Regions from separate parts of the Homo sapiens genome. Here regions 1, 2, 3, 4, 5 and 7 are each linked to region 6. Evidence: promoter capture Hi-C in human tissues and cell types (Jung and others, 2019). All regions are on one chromosome and are shown on one strand. The core of a region is centred on a gene start or on the middle of the fragment in contact, and the rest is flanking DNA. Distances in the headings are between cores, read along the strand shown.

Region 1 (2,700 bases), core at 196-2,695, 410 kb after region 6:
CAAAGACAAAACGTACCAGAATCTCTGGGACACAGCTAAAGCAGTGTTTACAGGGAAATTTGTAGCATTAAATGCCTACAAAAGAAAGCGGGAAAGATCTAAAATCGACACCCTAACATCACAATGAAAAGAACTAGAGAAGCAAGAGCAAACAAATTCAAAAGCTGGCAGAAGACAAGAAATAACTAAGATCAGAGCAGAACTGAAGGAGAGACATGGTAAACCCTTCAAAAAATCAATGAATCCAGGAGCTGTTTTTTTGAAAAGATTAATGAAATAGACTGCTAGTCAGACTAATAAAGAAGAAAAGAGAAAGGAATCAAATAGATGCAATAAAAAATGATAAAGGGGATATCACCACTGATCCCACAGAAGTACAAACTATCATCAGAGAATTCTATAAACACCTCTACACAAATAAACTAGAAAATCTAGAAGAAATGGATAAATTCCTGGACACATACATCCTCCCAAGATTAAACCAGGAAGAAGTCGAATCCCTGAATAGACCAATAACAAGTTCTGAAATTGAGGCAGTAATTAATAGCCTACCAACCAAAAAAAGCCCAGGACTGATGGATTCACAGCCGAATTCTTCCAGAGGCACAAAGAGGAGCTGGTACAATTCCTTCTGAAACTATTTCAAACAACAGAAAAAGAGGGCCTCCTCCCTAACTAATTTTATGGGACCAGAATCATCCTGATACCAAAATCTGGCAGAGACACAACAAAAAAAGAAAATTTCAGGCCAATATCCCCTAATGAATATCGATGCGAAAATCCTCAATAAAATACTGGCAAACCAAATCCAGCAGCACATCAAGAAGCTGATCCACCACGATGAAGTCAGCTTCATCTCTGGGATGCAAGGCTTGTTCAACATATGTAGATCAAAAAATCTAATCCATCACATAAACGGAACCAATGACAAAAACCACATGATTATCTCAATAGATGAGAAAAGGCCTTCGACAAAATTCAACACCCCTTCATGCCAAAAACTCTCAATAACCTAGGTATTGATGGAACATATCTCAAAATAATATGAGCTACTTATGAGAAACCCACAGCCAATATAATACGGAATGGGCAAAAACTGGAAGCATTCCCTTTGAAAACTGGCACAAGACAAGAATGCCGTCTCTCACCACTCCTATTCAACATAGTATTCGAAGTTCTGGCCAGGGCAATCCGGTAAGAGAGATAAATAGAGGGTATTCAAATAGGAAAAGAGGAAGTCAAATTATCTCTGTTTGCAGATGACATGATTGTATATTTAGAAAACCCCACCATCTCAGCTCAAATCTCCTTAAGCTGATAAGGAACTTCAGCACAGTCTCAGGATACAAAATCAATGTGCAAAAGTCACAAGCATTCCTATACCCCAATAAGAGACAAACAGCCAAATCATGAGTGAATTCCCATTCACAATTGCTACAAAGAGAATAAAATACCTAGGAATCCAACTTACAAGGGATGTGAAGGACCTCTTCAAGGAGAACTACAAACTGCTGCTCAAGGAAATAAGAGAGGACACAAGCAAATGGAAAAACATTCCATGCTCATGGATAGGAAAAATCAATATCATGAAAATGGCCATACTACCCAAAGTAATTTATAGATTCAATGCTATTCCCATCAAGCTACCACTGACTTTCTTCACACAATTAGAAAAAAACTACTTTAAATTTCATATGGAACCAAAAAACTGCCCATATAGCCAAGACAATCCTAAGCAAAAAGAACAAAGCTAGAGCATCACGCTACCTGTCTTCCAGCTACACTACAAGGCTACAGTAACCAAAACAGCATGGTACTGGTACCGAAACAGATATATAGACCAATGGAACAGAACAGAGACCTCAGAAATAACACTACACATCTACAACCATCTGATGTTTAACAAACCTGACAAAAACAAGCAATGGGGAAAGGATTCCCTATTTAATAAATGGTGTTGGGAAAACTGGCTAGCCAAAAGCAGAAAACTGAAACTGGACCCCTTCTTTACACCTTATACAAACATTAACTCAAGATGGATTAAAGACTTAAACGTAAGACCTAAAACCATAAAACCCCTATCCTAGAAGAAAACCCAGGCAATATCATTCAGGACATAGGCACGGGCAAAACGTCATGACTAAAACACCAAAAGCTATGACAACAAAAGCCAAAATTGACAAATGAGATCTAATTAAACTAAAGAGCTTCTGCACAACAAAGAAACTATCATCAAAGTGAAAAGGCAGCCTACACAATGGGAGAAAATTTTTGCAATCTATCCATCTGACAAAAGGCTAATATCCAGAATCTATAAGGAAATTAAGCAAATTTACAAGAAAAAAAAAACCCATCAAAAAGTGGGCAAAGGATATGAACAGATACTTCTCAAAAGAAGACATTTTATGTGGCCAACAAACATATGGAAAAAAGCTCATCATCACTAGTCATTAGGGAAATGCAAATCAAAACCACAATGAGTTACCATCTCACACCAATTAGAATGGTGATCACTAAAAAGTCAGGAAACAACAGATGCTGGAGAGGATGTAGAGAAATAGGAATGCTTTTACACTGTTGGTGGGAGTGTAAATTAGTTCAACCATTATGGAAGACAGTGTGGCAATTCCTCAAGGATCTGGACTCAGAAATATCATTTGACCCAGCAATCCCACTACTGCATATATACCCAAAGGATTA
Region 2 (2,708 bases), core at 118-2,617, 480 kb after region 6:
AGGATACCCTATTCAATAATAAAAACGAACAAAATCATGTTCTTTGCAGCAACATGCATGGAACTGAAGGCTATTACCCTAAATGGACTGATTCAGAAACAGAACATAAAATACTAGTTGTTCTCACTTATAAGTGGGAGGCAAACAATGGATATGCATGAACATATAGATTGAAAGACACTGGGGATTACAAAAGGAAGGAGGGTGGGAAGGGGTGAGGGTTGAAAAATAACCTTTTGGGTACAAGGCTCACTATTTGGGTGACGGGTACCCTAGATGCCCAATTTCTACTAGTATGCAACATCTCACGTAACAAACATGTCCATGTATCCTAAAATAAAATAAAATTTTAAAAACTTAAGAGTACAAAAAAGTTACAGGGAAAAGCCTATATTTGGAGGAGGAATGTCAGATCATGTCATGACTAGTATTCTGTTCAATTTAATTGATTCCTTCCAAACATGCACATATTCTTTCACTTATTATGAATATTAATTCATCACTCCCTATGTTTTTGGCAAAGTTCTAGATCCTGGATTGCAAATTTAAATACGGTGATAAGGAAGAGTCTTAATCAGAAAGTATCATTTGAGCAAACACCTGAAATAAGAAAGTGAGTCATATAGATGTGTATGTGTTCCTTGGGCGGGGGAAGTGCGTAATTGAAGGCAAGGGAAGCTGCAAGTATAAAGACCCTGAGTTTGAAATGTAATAGCATGGGAAATGTAATAGTATACATTTGAAATGTAATAGTTGGGAAGAGTATGGGAATAGTTGAGAAGATGGGAAGAGTTGAAATGTAATAGCATGGGATGAAATAGCATGAAATGTAATAGTATGGGAATAGTTGGGAATATGGGAAGAGTTGGGAATAGTTGGGAAGAGTATTTCAAATATACATTTGAAATGTAATAGTTGGGAAGAGTATGCAGATCAAATGTGGTTAGAATGGATTGAGAAAGTAGGGAAGTATTAAGAAAGATGATCATTTGGCCATTAACAGGAGCCAGATCATATAGAGCTTGGAGTACATTGTAATGACTTTGGATTTTATTCTAAGCAACAGAAAGAAAGAAGCATTATAGAGTTTTAGATTAGAGATTTTAAAGAGATCAATTTAGCTCCTCTGTTGAAATTAGACTGTGGCAGAATAGGGAAAGGACAGAAGAAGGTGTTCTACATGGGCAATATTTGTAGTAATCTAGGTGAAACAGAATGATGATGTGGCCAAAGTGGAAGCATTGTAAGTAACAAAAAGTGATTGCATTATGCATTTCTTTTGAATGTAAACTTAAGCAATAATAAGGATAGATTGGATATGAGATATTGGACAAAGATAGAAGTCAAAGATGATGTGACTCCAAGTTTTGTGAAAGGATGGACTTGTTATAAATTTGATGAACACAGTAAGGATTTTTCTTTTTTGGTGTGGCATGGGTATGAGAAGGAATCAGGAGTTCAGTTTAGTATGAGATTCTATTAGACAAAAGAGTGGAGATATTGTTTATATATTGAATATATAAGTCTCAAGAATAACAGAGAGGTTCTCATTATAAACATGCATTTGGAAGCTTTCAGTAAATATATATTATCTAAAGACGTGAAATTTGATGAGATCATTAAGGAAGTATATGAAGAAAGACAAGTTAAGAAGCGTAAGGAAATGCTTCAGAGCACTTAGTTGTTAAAGTCTCACCTCATCTTTTAAGGCATGAAAAAGGAAAAGGAGAAGAGACTGAGAATTAAGAGCTAACACTGTAGGAAAAAAAATAAATAAATAAGGACAGTGTGATGTCCTGGACACCAAGGAAGGAGTGTTTCAGGGTGGAGTGTTAAATGATTTTGATAGATAAACATGTGAGGAGTGAGAATTACATCAGCAATATCGAAGTCATTGGTGACACTGACAAGGGTAATTTTTTTGTGATGCAGTAAGAAAGGCAAAATTCTGTTTGTAGTGGTGGATTTAGGAGAGAATAGGAAATGAGGAGCTGGAGACTGTCAATATGGATGATTCTTTAAAAGAACTTGGCTTTAAAGAGAGCAGAAGAATTGAGATGATGTCAGGAGGATGGAAGTGAAATCAAGAGAAGTTCCCTTGTAATAAAATGTGAGAAATAACAGTGTGTGTATGCTGATAGGATTAATTCAAGAGATAAAATTGAGATACAAGGTGGGGGGCAGTTGATAGGGCAGCATTCTTGCGTATGTAAAAAGTAATCGCTAAGAGAGGAAGAGGCAAAGCTTAACTAGGGGTATGAATGGCTTATCCACTCTAAAGTGGGAGAAAGCAGATTATGCAGACATTGATATTATAAACTAAACAGATACAGAAGTAGGAGTTTATGGAAATTCTGTTATGAATGACTGTATGAGAAACCGGTGTTTTATGGCTGTCTTTGCCCTACATGATAGAGATAATATGATCCTCAAAGCCTAAAATATCTACTGTTTGGACCTTTTTGGATAAATATTTGCTAATCTTTTAAAGAGACTGGAACTACAGAGTTCCAGCTTAGTCATTTATTCAAAAAATCTTTAATAAGCGTCTATTATATACCAGGTTCTTTGCAAGGTAGTAAAATAAAAAACACTATAGAAATTGAATTACCTCTGTTCTTCCATTCTTGTTCCCGCTTGTGATGTCTGATTGTTTTCCTCAACACACGATTAAAGCAAAGCAGCTCCTGCCAAGATCATTGCTGATA
Region 3 (2,700 bases), core at 43-2,542, 500 kb after region 6:
AAAATAAAGTCTTTTATTTTGTCTTTTCTTAAAAAGGGTAATAGCTGAACTTTATATCCCTATCTCAGTTTGATGTTCTAGTGAATTTTTATCTTGGAATTACAGTACATTTTTATATTTGATCATACACATTTGGGAGTGCTGACATCCTTTTATGGAAATTGAAGAGTTTAACAAAGAGACTCACTGGATAGAGAAGTCAATACAACATACAATGTAAAACTATTGCTTCAGAGTTAGATGTAATCAGATAGATTCAAATTTCATCTTTGACACTAGATGTGTAACCATGGGGAAGTTACTCAAAATCTCCAATCCCCAATTTTCTTAACTTTAAAATAGTGATAATAACGATGCCTGCATAATACAGAGATTATGATGAAGATTGAATATAATGCTATAATAAAGTATTCAATGTAGTGTTAGTCTGAAAACAAACAACAATGATAAATTTGGTTAATGTTAATTTTATCACTGCTGATATTGGTGTAATTTCTCCCTTCCATTTAATATGTTTTAGAGTTATGCTGCAATTAGTACGATTTTATAGTCATTATTATGCTTCTTTGTAGACTCAAAGGTAGGAAACTGATGAGAAACCCTCAGGGAACTCTTGTACCACTTAGTGAAGAATCCAGGGTAATATAGGTAATAGATGGATGATGTTGCATGAATTGGAAGATGATCAGAAATAAATGAACCTGGCTTTAGTCCCCAGAATCAATGTATAAATAATGGTATTTAACGTGATATCAACTTTGTGGGGAGGGAGACTTAGATATTAAACAATTTTAAAGTAGTTGGCCTGAGTAACATGTAAAAATTGCTCTGATCTCCTAGACATCATGGTAGACTATGTTAATATTTATTGAGAAAATGTGTGTATGGTTTTTTTAGTTCAATGACACACTACAAATATGTTAAACTGAACAACATAAGGAAAGTCTCACAACACCAGAGAAAATGTTAAGCCTCACTTATGACCCTATTTCTCAGTTTAAATGGTGGCATTGGTTGTATATTGACATAAGACAGAAAAAGCCAGCTATAATAATGAATTATATATCACCAGGGCTCAGACATTGTCTTACAAAATATTGCAACAGATAAGATAAGGAGGTCTCTGTAACCCTATACATGGAGTCGGCTCAAAAAATATTTCTTAACTAAATGAACAAAGGAATTAATGTATTAGTTGACTAACTCATTTGAACTTAATTTGCCATTATACTTTTCTGTTTCAACTTCAATTCTAACAAACTCACAAAATTTAATTTTTACATTCAATTTTGAATATGTGAACTTTTAAAAATGTAGCTAAGTTTCCTTCCTGGTGAAATCAGCAGATTTTAGGATAATTTTCCTGTCTATACCAGTAGCTCCTAGATGCATTCACTTGTGAGTAATTGCCCAGCAAACGCGGGAGGCCACAGAAGAATGGAGTTGATGAAATGAGAACATCACAGGGAGGAGGAAGTCATCACCAAGGCCTGGGCACATGTTGTTCCTCACCACACTGAGTGCACACCAGCCCACTGAGCACCCCCGGGACATCTCACTCTACACACATTTCTGGCATCATCTGGGAGAAGCAACAAGTTGCCAGTCTCTGCTTCCTCATGGCAGTAGGAGACTTGCTGGAAATTGATATTATTTGGGCTTGTCTCCCTGCGAGACACAAAGCATAACATCCAAGATTTGTACATGCCTGTCCCACCGTGACCAGCGGGTGGGGTAGGGGAAGCTCTGCCTGCTTGGAACACCCAGCTCTTTAACGGGATAGAGCAGAGTTGCGAGGCAGGGGAGCTGGGGGAATGTTCTAAAACCACACCTCTGCCTTTCGGCATTTTAAGTAAACTGAAAAGCATTCTGTGGGGACGGGCTTTTGGAAGACTTCTATGCTCTTGATGAAAGCACAAGTTCTAACAGGAGGTCTCTTGCAGAGCTGGACTTCAGGAAGCGAACTGCAGAAGGACAATCTTCAAGAAAAGCAAATGCCAGGAGACGGGAGTGCACTTGGAACAGATGAGAACAGATGATAAAAGCTTCATTAGAATCTCTCTCAGCCAGAGAGAGACATTGACATTATAGACTTTTTAGTAGAGTTGGAAAGTAAAATGCACAGAAATATCACCTTGATAGGAAGAAGTGCATGCAGAAAGAAAGGCACAGATAAATTTCCCAAGAGGTCAAAAAATAGAAGAACAATTACTTCCATTTGGGAGAAACTACCTGAAGCTTTACAGAAAAAAATACAACCTGTGAACAGTACTCAGTAAATCATAAAGATGGTGTACTTAAAAAAAAAAAGAAAGCTGGTAGTGTACATTTGAAGCCTTATCTCAGGGAAAATAACATGATACACAATTGTATCGTGTTATTTTACCTTCCCTTACCTTTTACCTGTATCATGTTATTTTACCTTTATTGAATTAAAAGTAATTAGAATACCATTCAGCAACATTTCGCTCAAATACCCCATTGGAAATTTAAATAGGATTATATTACATTTATAAATTAACTTGGAGTGAATGGATATCTTGCAAATATTTAGTCTCAGTCTACAGGCTTATCCCACTGAATGAACCCACTTTTCTCTAATTTGACCAAGAAAAGTGTGTTGTGTTTGTGCTTTCTCACATATATTCATTTTCCATGTTTCCATCATGCAATTTATTTTGTCTTGATAATTGTTTGGAT
Region 4 (2,766 bases), core at 167-2,666, 360 kb before region 6:
GTTTTCTGCTTCATTTTTATTTACCCCCATTAGACAAATTTGGAGATTTTAAAATTTAAAACTTTTAAGCTCTGTTTTCTTTACTAAAAGGAAATGTGAAGTTATGTTCTGGGCAGTCTTTCTTTTTTTTTTTTTTTTTTTTTTTTTTGAGATGGAGTCCTGCTCTGTTGCCCAGGCTGGAGTGCAGTGGCAAAATCTCAGCTCACTACAACCTCCACCTCTCCAGTTCAAGCAATTATCCTGCCTCAGCCTCCCTAGTAGCTGGGATTACAGGTGCACACCACCATGCCCAGCCAATTTTTGTATTTTTAGTAGAGACAATGTTTCATCATGTTGGCCAGGGTGGTCTCGAACTTTTGACCTCAGGTGATCTGCCCACCTCAGCCTCCCAAATTGCTGGGATTACAGGCTTGAGCCACCGTACCTGGCCTTTCTAGGCAGTCTTTTATGTCTATGGTTTACATCATTGAGCTTCTATGCCAGACAGCCAGCAAATATTTCTTAAAATAAAAAAGAAACATAAATAACACATGCCATCTGCTAATAAATAACATATGAAAATATGTAATAAATATATGCCAATATATGATAAATATAATACACCAATTCGTTTTAAAGACATAAACCTTGTTGCAAAAATACTAGAATGCAATTGGATTTTAGAGAGGTACTTTCTCTGTACCTCAGTGTCGTACTTTAGTATTTCCTCAAATTCTCCAAAATAGATGTCGACATTACCAGACCTTTTTTTTCCACAAATGAAAATAGATGGTACACTGAAAAAATAAAATCTATTGATAATATTTATATATTTTATTTATAATGGTTTATAAATAGTCTTAAGATCTGCTTAAATTAATAGTTTGCAGATTTCCACAAAGCATAAAAATTATTTTCTCTGATACTAACCACAGTATTATAGCTAATGTTTATGAAGTAGAATTCTTCTAATAAAGTAATATTTTAATTTTTTTCAAACAAAAGTGATAATGCTAAAACCAAAATTCAGTGACTAGGGAAAGATTGATATGGATCAGCCAAAGTAGCATTAATTCCAATGTGTATTAATTTCATCACTCAATGACGTTCATTTGAATATTCCTACAAATAAACATGTGCACATGCATTAATGTTAGCATGTTAGCAAAAACTTTTTTGACACTATGAAAAATAAAGGTATTGATTGTGGCAACTCGTGTAGTTATATTTGAAATATGGAATAATACTTTTAGTAATTGTTTGCTTTAAGTATTCCAGAAAAAAGTTTCAAGGCAGCATGATTGGTGGGAGATTATATTGAGAACATGTATGCCTTTGTGTTTTCTTTCTTAGAAATGCCAATTAGAAGCAGACGAATTGAGAGTTGGAAACAATGAAAGAAATGGAGTTAAAAAAAAAGTTTTTGCTAATTCACAACATAGATAACCAACAATTACTTAAATGTATTAAAGCTATTTCTTTACAAAACCAATTTCTTTAAATCTATTGTGTTATAAAAAAAATTTCAGGTTCCATGTCATTCATTCATTCATTAACTCATGTAAGAAAATTGTATTTAGTGCCAACTTTTTACCAAGAATGATGCTACTGGTGATGATACAGACATAATTCCTGCCCTTGTGGACTTTGTGGTCTGTTAGAAAATTTTTGTATCAAGTGCAAAATTAATGGAGGGGAGACTTCCTCCTATTCTATGACTCTTTGAAGCATAGTTCCTTATATCCTACTTTTGAAAGCTCTTCGCTAAGATGTAATTGTCCCTCTATACAAGATTTTGTTTTTTCAAATAACTTTGTTTCTTCCTCGGAATGGTAATTAATGAAAGGATGAAGCACCTAGTATTCTATAGTGGTAGAGGAACATTAAAATATAGATAAATTAGAATAAGTCTTTCCAAAGGGAAAAAAGTGGCCGTCAAAAGCTTGCTAAGTTGTCTTTATTTGTAATCACATTAGAAGTTTCCCAACAATAACAATCATTTCAAGAGAAACCAAAGCAGTCCACTGAAGGGCATGGCCAGGAGCAGGTGGTAAATAGAACACACAGCCTATAGGGCAAAGAGGGAAGTTGAGGGAGCAAGGTCTTCTAAAATTGATCATTCTTACAGCAAGCATTTCTACCCACTATCACTTTCAAAGCTCCTATTACACGGTTGTATCCAGCTATTTAAGTGATTCTTTTCTTAGAATCAAGGAGCTTCAGGAGCCCAGAAGAATCATAGAGGTCACCTCAACATTTATCTACCAAGGAGAGTTTACTAATCAAAACAGGGAACTAAAATGCCAAAGGATGTGTTTTTTCTTACAATTTAATTATACCACATTCTCCCTTTTCCATTTAATGTGCATAACTCAATTGAATGTATATTTTCTTATTTATTTGATGATAGCATTGGCATTTATAAATTATTGTCTGAAAGAGCACCAGGGGATGTCTGGTTTCTTTCCCTCAGTAATTTTGCCTGCTTCTGTTTAACAGAGGCATATTTATCTCAGATTTCTGCTTCTTGCCTTCCACAATGAATGACATTTCTTTTCAGATATTTCCATTTCCAGATACGATATTAAGTAACTTCAATAATGTAGAGAAAAATGTTCAAGGATAAACCTCACATAACAGTGTTCTTTTAAACAAATATCTTTCTTAGTGACAACTTTGGGAAGATCTCTTTAGTCTTTTTCATATGCACACACACATATGCACACTTTTAGTTTATAGGATAGTTAAAATGACATGTGCAAATAGCCTTTAGTGAATCTTTTTGAC
Region 5 (2,700 bases), core at 17-2,516, 280 kb before region 6:
TAAAATATCACTTTGTCCCCCATAAATATACACAATTATTGTTTGTCAATCAAAAATAAAACTAAACAAAGAACTTCACCTTATAAGGTTTTAGGGGGCATTAAATATTTTAGAGCAGTAGCCGGTACACAATATTTGCTAATATGTTAGGTAATGTGAAGGATAACAGAAAGGAAACCCTGGTCTCTACTTTCTCATAGAAAACAAGATATTTGGAAAGAGAAGGCATAAAAGCTCAGTCATGGAGAAGAGGCTGTCTAAAGGTAATCATACAAAAATGCCCAGTGCAGTTCAGGGCTTGTGCCTAGGGTGCACTTGTTCGTTCTAACACTGTATCTTTATTAGCTCTTTAATTCATTTCAAAGTTTTTAAGTTTTACGGTGATCATATTCTCTACCACATGTCACAAGTACATGCCACCTCAAGCCGGACAATGTGAGTCAGTCATGACTTGAGCTCATGCAAAACAATCTGCTTTTCTTGTTTGCTGTGTATTTTAGGCACAGTGTACACAGGAACTCTGGTTAGATCTGACTTCAACAAAATGACTTGGCTGGAATTCATGTAAGATATCCAGGAAAAGAACCAATTGTCCTCCTTCAGTACCACTATTTTAATAAATACAAACCACGAAGTTGGGCTTAAAATGATTTGCTTTGAAAAAGCAGAGGTTACAGCACCCTCACCTCTAAGAAATAGACCACTGCTTCCAGAGCTGTGCCAGAAACTCATCTTTCCTCTCTTGGGCCTGACTTGAGGCTGGAGATGTAAGGGGATTCCTGACAGAGGGCAGGATACACATGCCAGTCTTGTCTTTCTCTTGGGTTTGGGGTAGGAATTAGTGGGTGTTCTTTCTCCATCCAACAAGCCTCTCAATCTACTAGAAAATGAGGAAATGCACTCATTGTAAAGTCTGGATCATTTCAGCTTTGAATTAGAGGATTGGTATTTCTCTTGTGGATTGCAAAACACACACACACACACGCAGGTCACTAATACAGGCTTTAGGTTAAGATGTTAAATGACATTTCCCTCTCTCTTCATTTCCTATATTCTCCCCCTGCCAACTACCACCCTTTTTGGCCTTTTATTTGTTTACAAGCCTTGCATTTCAAGCCACTGAAGAATCCAAATCTTGTTCACTCAAAAAGTGACTTTCCATTAAGGAAGGAAATTCATAGGAGCAAAAAAGCTTAGCAGGACCCACACTAAATAGCTTCATCTCCCAATGATTCAAGGAGCTGGCACTTGGTGATTCCTCACATTATTCTCTGAATGCCATGACCTATATGTCAAAGTGAGAGGACGCTTCTGGATGTTTCTTGTCTTTGAAAAGTAATGCTCCAGGGACAAAGAGTTTCTTTTTCTGGGCAGTAATGACGGCCACGAGGTGGGAGCCATAAACCAGGCAAGCCTGGGCAGTGTGCATGCTGACATTTTTCATTCCTAATATCCCACAAGTATTTCAGCTTCAACAGAGCCTCTGTGCAAATGAAAAGGAACTTTTTTGTTTCTAGATTTTGTTATATTATGATTGAAAATTCCTACCAGCCTCCCAGTTACCCGTTTGAAGATAGACCGGCAAAACTATTTTTACCACCTTTATATCCTCCCATTTTACAAGCAAAAGGAATTAATAATATTAGTGTCGCTTTCTCTAGGTTAATAAAATTCATGCTTCTTACTTCCCCAGAGCCTTTTGCCTGTGCATTTAGAAATCCCAGCAGCTATTGTTCAGCCAGGGCTGCCCACAACCCATTTCTAAGCGATGTGCAAGTAGGCAGATTAGATCCCAGACATAAAAATTAAAATTTAAAAAAATTTTAAAAGCATGGCCAACTTTTGTAAATATGAATGACCTATTCTAAAAGAAAAGAACTAACATTTTGCACAAAGATGGAGATATGTTGGTTTATTTTTTTCCATCTAGAAATAGTTGATAAGACCTTTATCCCCTTTACTCCCCCCAAACCTCCAACTTCCATCCCTAAGCACCCTATTATTTGGAGGAAAAGTCCATTCAGACTCCTTTCCTTTCCTTCCTACCTGCCTCCCTCTCTCCCTCCCTCCCTCTCTTTTTCTCTCTCTCCCTCCTTTTCTCTCTCCCATCTTCAAACATTTCTTGAATGTATGCTATGTGATAGACACTGGGCTCAATTATAGGAACAAAGCCATGAACAGTAAAACACAGTCTCATTCCTAATAGCGTATAGGCTGGATAGTAAGAAATATTACATAAATAATTACATACATAATATTCTATATATAAATGTACCAATGATGGCTGGACGCGGTGGCTCACACCTGTCATCCCAGCACTTTGGGAGGCTGAGGCAGGTGGATCACCTAGGTCAGGAGTTCGAGACCAGCCTGACCAATATGATGAAACCCCATCTATACTAAAATTACAAAAATTAGCCAGGCATGGTGGAGTGCACCTGTAATTCCAGCTACTCGGGAGGCTGAGGCAGGAAAATCTCTTGAACCAGGGAGGTGGAGGTTGCAGTGAGCAGAGATCGCACCACTGCATTCCAGCCTGGGCAATAGAGCAAGACTCTGTCTCAAAAAACAAACAAACAAATAAATAAATATACCAATGATAACTACGATAAATGCAGAGTTTAGGGAGTTATATAAGCACATACCGAGGACTTAAAACTCATCATAAAGGTTTTCCCAGATGCTGATGGGTGATTTAGA
Region 6 (2,700 bases), core at 162-2,661:
GAAGCGCAGCGCGCGGTCCCCACGCACGCCCTGCCTCCGGGCGGCCGGCGGGCTGGCCCGGCGAGGAGAGGAGGGATGCGCGCCCTCCTCCCGCTCCTATCTGCGGGTGCCACCGCCTGCGTCAGGGACCCCTGGCCCGAGTAAGCCCAGACTGACGAGCCTGACACTTTAATGGGGTGCGGGAAGTGCAAAGGAGGGGAGGCCCGGGAAAGGGGGGAGTGGCCGAGAGGGGATGGTAGCTGCGAGGAGGTAGAGAAGGACCCTCCTTCTCCAGGGTCCCAGCTTGTCGGAGCTGGAAGCCCAGATTGCTTAACCCTTTGCATTCCCAGCAAGAAGCGACTTTTTCACTTAGAAGTAAAACGCGCTGGGCTATTCCAGTTTTTCTCCCCACAGTGTGTGTGTGTGTGTGTGTGTGTGGGAAAAAAAGAAGGGAAGGGGTGGGGCGGCTGTGCAGAATGCATTTTCCTTACATTGGGAATTCTTGTTTCCTAACTCTGGAGCCCCTCTGCTGCTCCGGAAGATGCAAAATGGAAAAGTACATCTGAGGACGTGCAGCCTTTCCCAGGCAGAGAGGCTACCTGTGTCCCCAGAAAGGCAGCGGATTTCTGGCGAGAGCCGCAGAAATGGGAAAAGAGGGCTATGTTGCTAAGCCTGACAGTGACCTGAAATATTCCCTGATCTTCAGTCTGTTGGAAATTTTTAAACTTCCAACTTTTCTATCGAAACTGGCTTAAAAATTTTAAAACAATTATAAGGATGTCTTCCTTCTCCCTGGCCTGTTGGAGGACCTTCATCCTTCACCAAAACGCGCCAGTGTAACGTACCTTGTTCAGCTCTTGGTCATAAAGTCGTCCTCAGCCTGTCTGTGTGGTCCCGGAGGGTCGGTGGCGGGCAGTTTCCAAAATTGAGGTAATAAGAGATCAGATGAATTTGAGACGACCGGCCAAAAAAAATAAGAAATTTAAAAACAACATTTAAAAAGGATAGGGGAGTCTTAAATGTTTGATTCTTCCCCACTTTAAAAAATAATTTCACTAATATTCTCTTTATGTTTCCGTTGCACTTCAGTCTAATTCTTAAAAAAATTATGCTTTAAAAATAAATTAACTTTTCTTTTTTCTTTTCTTTTCTTTTTTTTTTTTTTTTTTTTTTGGGCTTCAGTCTTTCTGCCCCCGATAACAGAAAATCTCTTTTTCGTCTTAAAAAAAAAAAAAAAAAAAAAAAAAGCCTGTGGAAGACTCAGCAGAACCCAGGAAGCGCAGAATTGGGAGAAAAGTCTTTGGCTGGGGCTGTTTCAAGTCTCTGGTTCAATGGGCTGCTCGAAGCCAGGACTGGGTAATTCTTTCCAGACGTCTTGACTTCTCCTTCCCCGCCGTTGTTGCCCTTCTGCCTCCTCCAACTTAAGGGGGTCTTAACAAGTGAGCTGGTGGGTGTTTTAATAGGGCGGCGGAGGGAGTGGGGGGGTGAGGGAAGTGGAGAGGGAGGTGTGGACTGGGGAACCCTGAGGGGAGGGAACTGGGAGCGCGGGCGGGCGGGCGAGCGGGAGGCGGGGAGGGGGAGAGGGAGAGAGAGAAATTGGCCATTCAAAGCCTTCTCTGAGCTACAGGCCGGTTCTAAACTCCAATGAATTCAATTAACTTGATTGCTAACGTGTGCAGAGAAATGCAAGACACATAGGGGGCCACCACCTGATTCCTTACTTTCCTCTGGCGGCGGAGGTGGGAGCCCTCGCCTCTTGGATTTCCCTGAACTCCCGCGTTACAAGTTCCCTCCAAGCGATAAACTCCCTGTGGCGCTGAAGTAATTTGTTTTAAAGCCAAATGGTGCCCTTCAGCTAAGTAACCGACCCAAGGAGGAACAGTTGGGAGGGGTGTGTGCACGTGTGTGTGTGTGTGTGTAAGTGTGTGCGTGTGTGTGTGTACCTGGAGCCTTCGACAGCCGGCTGGGACTCTAAAAAGATCGCGCTGGTCCACCACTTGTTAACCCTTTCTTCCCGCCAACTCAAAAGTTTCTGAGCTGACGTCAAGTGTCAAAGCCTTTCTCATAAAGAGGTTTCTGCCGTGGGTGGGCGGAAAACATAGAAAAGTAATTATATGTATATTTTTGCTCAATCTGGTCCCCTAACGTAAACATACTCAAACAGCGCGCATTAAAAATAAAATAATAAAAATTGTTTTCTGGAGGACTTATATTTAGCCATCTTGAAGGAAATGGCTTAACTGGCTTTTGCTTTTTGCAAGCCTTCTGCAAAGTTGACGAGGACAAATATGTCTTGCTTGGAGATGGCCTTTCCTCGTCGTTTTCACAATGCCCCAAGGCTGGGTAGAGTTCGTTTTTTGGTTACTCCTCCCCCCACCACTCCGCCTCCTTTCTTTCTCTTGGACCTTGCCAACAAGCCTGCTGATGACTGAAAATGGACAGTAGGTGGCACTGTTGAGGAAAAAATGAGAGTGACTTTACAAATTAACCAACTTGGTCTTGGGAGATTGCGCTGAAATTGTTATAGGGTAAAACAGATTTTTCTTTCTTTCTTTTTTCCTTCTTCCCCTTCCAAGGATCTTCTGAGGGGTGGACTTCTTTGGAACTCGACAGGACCTTGAAGACTGGGTTCTTAGTCCTTATCACATATATGGGCTATAATGAATAAGTCTAAACAGAAAAGTCGAATAAACTGGAAATGATGCTTTCATCACGTCGCAC
Region 7 (2,700 bases), core at 5-2,504, 300 kb after region 6:
GGTGGGACGAGCCTGTAGTCCCAGCTACTCAGGAGGCTGAGGCGGGGGAATTGCTTGAATCTGAGAGGTGGAGGTTGCAGTGAGCCTAGATCTCACTACTGTGCTCCAGCCTGGTGACTGAGTGAGATTCTGTCTTAAAAAAAAAAAAAAAAAAAAGCATGTACTGTTTATGTTTATTTATAGAGATTGCAAATAGTGTATAAAATCATTGTATAAGGGTTTTGATGAACTTGAAACCAAAACAGCAGAAATTAGGCTTTATGAAAAGGTCTTCATCTGTGAAGAGAATGAGTGAAAGATTTGAGCTTTGGATATTTTGCTAGACTAAGAGAGGACATCTGATAACCCTCACAAGATGTATGCATGTTCTCACTTGAAGTCCTGTAAGCACCTCAAAGGAATGGAGTAGGGAAGGGGAAGTGGCTAATAAATGTGTACTTAGGTTCAACTGTATATTTATTGAGGGCCTATAATAAACAAAAACAAATTAGACATGGTCTATGCCATCAGGCATTTATATCCAAAAGAGAAAGACAGGCCTATAAAAAGATATTTTGAATAAAATATCAACATGGGGATAACAGAGGTTTGCTGAGGTTGTTAATGGAACATGTGGGTGGCGGGGGGGTGGGGGTCACCCAACCTAGAGTAGTCAGGGAAGATTTCCTTGGAAGGCTGTGTATTAGCAACAGTTTGTTAATTTCTCCTCAAATTGTTCTTTTTAGTGACAGGGTCTCCCTCCAACACCCAGCTAGAATGTAGTGGCGAGATCATAGCTCACTGCAGCCTTGAACTCTTGGGATCAAGAGGTCCTCCTGCCTCAGCCTCCTGAGTAGCTGGGACTACAGACATGCACCACCACATCTGGCCCTCAAAATTGTCCTTCTATTTGTGATATAGAGTAATTTAAAATGAAATAATAGCATCAGTCAGTGTTTAGAATGGGAAAGAGTCTTCAAAATCTATTGAACCAGATTCAGGGAGGTTTAATTCTTGAGCCCAAGACAGTCTGTGACAATGGCCAAGACAAATTGAGCCATTACATGATATATAAGGTTCCAAACACATTTTCACAAGTGCCCAAGGGCAACCCAGGCTAATTGTAATATAGCCAATGTATTTTGTTTGATTAAATTTACTTAGCATTATTATAAAAAGCCAGTAAAGCTGATGAGGAGAGAATCATTTTTACCTTCAAAAACATGGACTTCAAATGTTTTCTTGGGCACACCATTTTTAAAATTTAGAATTATCTGTCTTTTCCCCTCAAGAATAGCCCTGTCTACAGCCCTCAAAACCAACTTCACTTAACATCATTTATTTAAGTTCTATTAAACTTTCCCAAATCTATTAGTCAACAAATAATTATTTGGCATAAAAATACTTTCCTCAAATAATCTTTCATCTAGTTATAAAAGTAAGTAAGTTTGTATATTAGCTCAAGATCAATTAAAAATATTAAAATTAAAAATCAATAAAAAATTAAAGATATGCAAATGTATATACATATATCCTCAATCTATTTATGCTCAGGAGATTATACAAATATGTTTAGCACTCACATTTCAGAATGTACTATGGTATCTACCTCCCCTTTGTGGGAATAAAAGATTCCTCCAGCTCAAGTGCTCAGGTACACTTGTTTGGCAAAATGATGTACACGTAAATACATGAGGAGCCCACTTTGATGTCAAAGGTATATCATTTTTGGGTTTTCATCTGCTTTTTTATAACTTATTTTATTTTTGTGGCTTTTTTATCTGCTTTTTGACTTTGGAAATAATCAAAGAAAAAAAACCCTCTTTTTAATATATTGCTTTCTATTGCTGCTCTAATAAATTACCAAAAATTTAATGACGTACATGGTTTAATTACCAAAACATATTTATTTTACATTTCTGGAAGTCACAATCCTAAATGAGTCGTACAAGGCTAAAATCATCAGAAGTCACTGTTTCCCCTGAAGGGTTCAGGAGGAATCTGTTTTCTTGCCTATTCCAGTTTCTAGAGGCTATCTGCTTTTCTTGACCCATTACCCTGCATCACTCCAACCTTTGATCCATTGCTGTATCTTCATCTTTGACTCTGACCCTCCTGCCCTCCTCTTATAAAGACCCTTGTGATCACATTCAGTCCACTCAGATAATCTGGGATTTTCTCCCAATCTGAAGCTCCTTAAATTAACTATGTTTGTAAAGCTGTTTTTGTGACATAAAATAACGCATTTACAGATTTCAGAGATTAGAATGGCTATCTTTGGGGATCTATTATTCAGACTGCCATACAATAACTTAAGAATAAAAGAATAAAAATTCATTAAGAATAAAAAGAATAAAAATTAATAATTTTTGAGAAAACAATAGCTTTGAAAGAAATAACTATGAAGGATTCTTTTTTTCCCTCAAAACACACACACACAAAAGAAACAAAGGCATCAGAATATCTTCTTATAAATAACACAATATAAACCCAGTGCAAATGAAATATAGGATTTTAAGCTTCTTCCAGGAAGTAGATGAACCTTTGCCAAGTAAGTAATAATTTCTAGTTTGGTCAAGGACAAATAAAAAGCCAGTCCACTATTTGATGAAACTATTTAATATGCATGTAGAGAAAAGCTCATTTAAAAGCACATTACCTGCCAAAATAAAATTACAGTTGTAACCTACCAATATGAAATTAGACAGAAATTTCAAATCT

The links. The method cuts DNA at HindIII sites, captures the fragments that hold promoters and counts their contacts. A contact is called where the count stands out against the background at its distance.
Region 1: a contact is called between a fragment that was not itself captured here and the fragment with the promoter of HAS2 in region 6, in 2 of the 25 tissues and cell types used here (H1 embryonic stem cells and IMR-90 fibroblasts).
Region 2: a contact is called between a fragment that was not itself captured here and the fragment with the promoter of HAS2 in region 6, in 1 of the 25 tissues and cell types used here (IMR-90 fibroblasts).
Region 3: a contact is called between a fragment that was not itself captured here and the fragment with the promoter of HAS2 in region 6, in 1 of the 25 tissues and cell types used here (H1 embryonic stem cells).
Region 4: a contact is called between a fragment that was not itself captured here and the fragment with the promoter of HAS2 in region 6, in 1 of the 25 tissues and cell types used here (dorsolateral prefrontal cortex).
Region 5: a contact is called between a fragment that was not itself captured here and the fragment with the promoter of HAS2 in region 6, in 1 of the 25 tissues and cell types used here (H1 embryonic stem cells).
Region 7: a fragment that was not itself captured here is called in contact with the fragment with the promoter of HAS2 in region 6 in 2 of the 25 tissues and cell types used here (aorta and mesenchymal stem cells).

Annotation. Positions count from the first base shown.
Region 1 is chr8:122,054,314-122,057,013 of GRCh38, forward strand. No RefSeq gene overlaps it. Among named protein-coding and RNA genes, the nearest start is that of LINC02855, 360 kb to the left of the region's middle. The HindIII fragment of the contact is 6,115 bases long and covers 1-2,700 here.
Region 2 is chr8:122,119,112-122,121,819 of GRCh38, forward strand. No RefSeq gene overlaps it. Among named protein-coding and RNA genes, the nearest start is that of LINC02855, 420 kb to the left of the region's middle. The HindIII fragment of the contact is 4,493 bases long and covers 1-2,708 here.
Region 3 is chr8:122,135,811-122,138,510 of GRCh38, forward strand. No RefSeq gene overlaps it. Among named protein-coding and RNA genes, the nearest start is that of SMILR, 430 kb to the right of the region's middle. The HindIII fragment of the contact is 3,663 bases long and covers 1-2,700 here.
Region 4 is chr8:121,279,873-121,282,638 of GRCh38, forward strand. No RefSeq gene overlaps it. Among named protein-coding and RNA genes, the nearest start is that of HAS2, 360 kb to the right of the region's middle. The HindIII fragment of the contact is 4,388 bases long and covers 1-2,766 here.
Region 5 is chr8:121,355,932-121,358,631 of GRCh38, forward strand. No RefSeq gene overlaps it. Among named protein-coding and RNA genes, the nearest start is that of HAS2, 280 kb to the right of the region's middle. The HindIII fragment of the contact is 4,755 bases long and covers 1-2,700 here.
Region 6 is chr8:121,640,029-121,642,728 of GRCh38, forward strand. HAS2 (hyaluronan synthase 2) reads right to left here and starts at 1,412. Exons shown (of 4, transcript NM_005328.3): 1 at 825-1,412. It also overlaps HAS2-AS1. RefSeq lists an enhancer at 2,071-2,694. The HindIII fragment of the contact is 13,134 bases long and covers 1-2,700 here.
Region 7 is chr8:121,943,860-121,946,559 of GRCh38, forward strand. No RefSeq gene overlaps it. Among named protein-coding and RNA genes, the nearest start is that of LINC02855, 250 kb to the left of the region's middle. The HindIII fragment of the contact is 5,685 bases long and covers 1-2,700 here.